Linked DNA regions of Homo sapiens: region 1 is linked to region 2. The links are contacts of gene promoters, found by promoter capture Hi-C in human tissues and cell types (Jung and others, 2019). All regions are on one chromosome and are shown on one strand. Each heading gives the region's core, a stretch centred on a gene start or on the middle of the fragment in contact. The rest is flanking DNA. Distances are from core to core; before and after follow the strand shown. Region 1 overlaps PIGP (phosphatidylinositol glycan anchor biosynthesis class P). Region 2 holds the start of RIPPLY3 (ripply transcriptional repressor 3).

Region 1 (2,700 bases), core at 188-2,687, 61 kb before region 2:
TACTGAAAACAGGGAAGTAAGTGAAAATCTACATGGCTTAATGAGAAGATTTACCTCCTGCTCCATCTTCCCTCTTGGGGCTTCGAGGCTTATATCACCCTACTGCTCACAGAAAAAGATAGATAGTTCTTTCCTGAGGAAGCTGACCAGCCCGAGAGAAAGGATCTATAATTTCTGACATTTAGAGGACCCCAGTGAAGTGGCCAAGTCTCTCAGAGTGAGGCTCACCAGTTGACCATCCCTGCCCACATACACATAGTGCTTCCAACTCACTTGTTAGCACTTCATTTTTAAATATGAATGGACTACTCTAAGTTACCAGACATTAAAAGAAAGCCTCTAGCATGAAATGAAAAAGCAGAAAATTAAAGGGAATTTGAAGGAAATAGAGATAATGCAGGAAACAGAAAAAAAAATTTAAATAACATAAAATTCTCAGAGGTAAGAAACAATTATAACTATGAAACAAGAACAGAATGCTATGCAAACAGGAAATTACTGTATTTGGAAATTGTAAACATGATAACCAAAATTAAAATTTTAATTGAAAGACTGGAAAATAAAACAAAGGTAATCTCTAGAAGTTAGAACAAAAAAAAATGAAAATATAAGAAAGTATAATCGTTAAAAATTCAAACTATTAGAAGTTCCAGAAAGAGAAAATAATAGAGAACAAATCATTTAAAAAAAAAAAAACATCTGGCCAACATCTCAAGACCCCATTTCTACAAAAAAATTAAAAATTAGCCAGGTGTGGTGGTGTGTGCCTATAGTCCCAGCTACTTGCAGGGCTGAAGTGAGCTCAGCAGATTGAGGCTAGTGATCTGTGATCATGCCGTTGCACTCCAGCCTGGGTGACAGAGGGAAATGCTTTCTCAAAAAGAAAAAAAAAACACTCAATGAAAAATAGCACTCCATGTACATAATGATACTGAGAGGCATAATAGAGTCCTATCAGAGAATTTGAGGCTCTGGTATTGGTGGATTCCTGGGAAACCAAGTGAACAGACAAAAAGATGTAATTATTCCAGAAAAAAAAAAGTTGTACAAGAAAATATATAATAATAATGTACTAAGATCCTCAGTTGCAAAATTGTTTATGTAGGTACAATTATTTCTAAAACCTGCTGCTATAATGAGAAATTGCAATGTAAGTATAGAAGAGGATAGGAGGAGGTTAATTCCTTATCTCCATATTAGGAAGCCTAGAGAAAATGTCTGTAATGGAAAAAAATGAGGAAATAGTAATATGAGCATGTTTTGTAGCAATGAGGAGGTAAGTACCAGAAGACAGCTCAAGTGCTCAAAGCATTTCTTTTTGGAGAGTGAGACCCCAGGGTTGGGATGGTGGGATAGAGGACTGCAGTTTTTCACTGTAAGCCTTGTGGAACTATTTGTCTCTTATGTACACATATTACTTTATAAAATTTAAATTTAAAAAACATGTTGGCTTTGTGACCGACTCTTGAGAATTACAACTTTTTTAAAGTGTCTATTATGTACTTTAATATTCTCTTTGGCAGATATTGGGCAGTTGCATTACCTGTCTACCTCCTTATTGCTATAGTAATTGGCTACGTGCTCTTGTTTGGGATTAACATGATGAGTACCTCTCCACTCGACTCCATCCATACAATCACAGGTAACTTTATATAAAAGGAAAGTGCTGGGGCAATGAAAGAGTGGAGTATTAGCACTTTTACCCAGAAAAGCAACAAAGAACAGGCTGCAAAACCCATGTTGGTGGTGCGCGTCTGTAATCCCAGCTACTTGGGAGGCTGAGGCAGGAGAATCACTTGAACCCAGGAGGCAGAGGTTGCAGTGAGCCAAGATCCCACCACTGTACTCCAGCTTGGGTGACAAGAGTGAAACTCCATCCTAAAAGAAAACACACACACACACACACACACACACACACACACACACACACACGGACAGTAAAAAGAAGCTACTAAGAGAAATAAATACAAACTTATATAAAAGGAAATATTTGCATGAAGGAATTAAGTTCTGATGAATACACACTAGCTATATTCATGGAGGAAATAAATTATAATTAATTATAGCACTGGTTAGCAGGTGTATGTTCCCATAAAAACCACAAGTATATGCTATATGTGTCTATAATATGTTCCCATTAACTTTGCCTGAGAGAAGCTTATCCTGAACAGACACCGTTGATCAAGGGATAGTAAATAGTACATGCAGACCTTGTTCAGAAAAAGGACTTTGGGGGTGTGTATCCTCCTCAGGATCATTGTGTACTCCTTATTCCAATTAAGTGGATAAAAGAGCCACAACACGTTCGTCTGGTTTTATTTTTTTAAAGTTCTTTCAAGTCTAAAGATGAAAATAAATCAGACTCCTGAGCTTGCTTAAATTCTAGAAAGTAAAGTATTTTTTAAGTTCCCTGGTATGATTTTTCAACTTTTCAAAACCTTTATATATTAGCCTCTACAATGTATTTTGAAAATCAATTCTATTATTTTTAAGTGTCTTTCTAATACACTGCATTCCATGCATTCTTGATTGGAATTGGCAGCAAATAGGTAATTTGTGCAAAGAGGGGAAATTGTTAAGATTGCATGAATATTTATACCAAATGATTTAATAGTTTTGCCATGTTGATTTAAATACATTTTCAAGGCCTGGATATAATTCTGTTCCCGTGAGAAATGTGCAAATGAGACTTTAATCATC
Region 2 (2,700 bases), core at 133-2,632:
TTCTTAGTTCCAGTGTCTGCCTGAAAAAGAGGCACCGGACCCCCCAGGAACTTTCCCTGGAGTTCTCAGGGCTGTGGATAAATTACTGTCATTTGTGTTTTTTCTCTCCTGCTACGTCCCCAGTTCTCTGTCTCCAGTTAAGCTTTGAGAAGGGAGGTCCCGAATCTCACACAATTATCAGGGAACCCATTAGTTGAGAGATTTCTCTCCCTGCAAATCCTGGCTGAATTGTTCAATTCGGGGTTCCCCAACTATAGCTGTCTACTTTGTCCCCGGTTAATTTCAATCACACCACCTTGGTCACGGAAGGAGATTGATTCTACAGAGATGATTTTACAGAGTTGTAGGATGAAAAACAAACAAACAAAAAAAGGGGGCTGGGCGCGGTGGCTCACACCTGTAATCCCAGCACTTTGGGAGGCTGAGGTTACTGGATCACTCGAGGTCAGGAGTTCGAGACCAGCCTGGCCAACATGGCGAAACCCAGTCTCTACTAAAAATACAAAAATTAGCCGGGCGTGGTGGCAGGCGCGTGTAATCCCTGCTACTCAGGAGGCTGAGGCAGGAAAATCGCTTGAACCCGGGAGGCGGAGGTTCCCGTGAGCCGAGATCACGCCATTGCACTCCAGCCTGGGCGACACAGTGAGACCCTGTCTCAAAAAAAAAAAAAAAAAAAAAAAAAAGAGGGAATCTTTCTCCTGCCTGGCTACCTGGCCCATCCGGCCTACCCGGTCCCTTCCCTACCTCCCTGGCTAATTTGATTTCCTACAACGTTACTGTCTTTAAAAGGGTTGGTGCCCAGGGACAGCGAACGCCGAGCCCCCAATCCAGGGACAACAGAAACGGCTACCGAGAAAGTAGCAAGGTGAGAGATTGCCTTTGCAAGGCTGGCTTAGGAGCCCGAGACTGCAGTGTCCCCGGCTGGCTAACTGAGATCTCCTCTACACGGAAGCGTCGGCCCCTTTCCTGGCCAGCTACATCCTGGGCCTCCGCACTTCAGAGCTGTGCGTTGGAACCGGAGAACTGAGCGCCCCTCCCGGGAACCCGGCTGCCGGCTCAGGAGCTTGCTTGGCGTCGCCGTCGAGCTCCGGAGCTCCGCTGGGGATCGGGGGTTCAGCAGCGCCCCAGCCTCCCGCTCGCTGCGCTCCCCGCACCGCCACCGCGCACGCCTCTCAGCGCGTCCACCGGGGCGCGGGGCCACCCTCACCTCTCCGGCCCGCGCGGTGGCGGAGGCCTCCAGGGAGCGTCCCCGGGGCAGTGACAGCCGCGCCCCCGCGCCTTCCGGGCTCCGGCCGCCGCTTCGGGCTCCATGGTGCCGGCGGAGCCCGCGCCCCTTGCTGCGGCGCCGGCCTACGAGCGCGCCTAGATCCACTCGGGCTAACGCGCTCACCTACCCGCGCGCCAGGTTTAAAAACGGGGGCGGGGCGGCGCGGGCAAGCGCTGGGAGGGGGCAGGACCCGAGGAGCTCCGTGAGGGGTGCGGAGGGGGCCGCAGGGTACGAAGGAAAAGCCCGGGTCGGAGGAGCGGAGGGGACCAGAGAAGTTCCGGGAGGGGACCAGGGAGCCGGGGATGGGGAGGAGACGAGAAAAGCTCAAGGAGGTGGCGCCGGGTGTCAAGGAGGGGGGTCCGGCAGGCCCGGGCAAGGGTGGGGACGGGACAAAGAAAAGTCGGGGAGGGGGCACCAGAGAAGGGGTGACCAGAGGATGGAGGTACCAGGGATTGGGGCCACGAGCTCGGGCTGGAGACAGCGGGAAGTGACCCAGGAACCCGGGAGAGGAAAGCGAGGCCCGCGGGCTAGGGGCGTTTCCGTCGGGCGCACTCCCTCGGGGACTGGGGGGACCTGCGCTCACCTGCTGGGCTTCCCCTGCCGGATGTGGGATGTGAGGAGTCCCGGCTTCTCCGTCCCTCTGTGGTCCCCGCGGCCTCGGGCTTTGGTCCTGTGCGAGCATCGGATTCCCTGGGTTTCCGGAGAATCTCGCTTCCACCGCCTTAGAGCGGCAGCGGGTCTTCGGGGACATCTACCGAATCCTCGGGTCCGCGTGCACCGGCCTTGCCTTCGGTGCTGGACAGTGGGCTCCCGGACGCCCCGACGCCAGGGCTCGAACCCGTGGCGAAGCGGGTGGGGTGGGGCGCGGCGACCCTTCCAGGAGACAGAAGGCCAGGAATGGAACCGAGCAAGAGGGGTGCTACGAGCGCACCCTTCCCACCGATGGCGGCCTTGGAAAGAATGCGAATTTTTAATAAAGCCTGGAGCGGCGGGCTTCTCCTTCGGTTAGCCCCAGCCAGGCTTAGAAAGGGCCTCCCGACCAGCAGAAGCGACCTTGCCCGACCCTGGGGACACTTCCCCGGGCGTCGCTGGAGCGCCGCTGCCACCATCACCAGCGCACGGCCAGGGTGGGAGAAAGCGGTTTCACACGTAGAGCACTGCGACAGAACACCGAAGGCGCTGGAGGGCCTTCAACTACCCCGGGCTCCTCAGGGGTAGTTACTTTATATAATTTAAGTTACTGTGATGGATGTTAAAAAATCGAAGAACTAGGCCAGGCGCGGTGGTTCTCACCTGTAATCCCAGCACTTTGGGAGACCGAGGCAGGTGGATGGATCACTTGAAGTCAGGAGTTCGAGATCAGTCTGGCCAATATGGTGAAACCCGTCTCTACTAAAAATAAAAAAATTAGCCGGGCGTGGTGGCAGGCTCCT

Evidence for each region. Contacts are between HindIII fragments. The study calls those that stand out against the background at their distance.
Region 1: a contact is called between a fragment that was not itself captured here and the fragment with the promoter of RIPPLY3 in region 2, in 2 of the 25 tissues and cell types used here (lymphoblastoid cells and mesendoderm cells).

Annotation. Positions count from the first base shown.
Region 1 is chr21:37,066,204-37,068,903 of GRCh38, reverse strand. It overlaps PIGP (phosphatidylinositol glycan anchor biosynthesis class P), which reads left to right. Exons shown (of 5, transcript NM_153682.3): 4 at 1,524-1,642. Among named protein-coding and RNA genes, the nearest start is that of PIGP, 5.5 kb to the left of the region's middle. The HindIII fragment of the contact is 4,734 bases long and covers 1-2,700 here.
Region 2 is chr21:37,005,384-37,008,083 of GRCh38, reverse strand. RIPPLY3 (ripply transcriptional repressor 3) reads right to left here and starts at 1,382. Exons shown (of 4, transcript NM_018962.3): 1 at 1,208-1,382. The coding sequence starts at 1,311. RefSeq lists a silencer at 1,208-1,317 and an enhancer at 1,541-2,041. The HindIII fragment of the contact is 12,344 bases long and covers 1-2,700 here.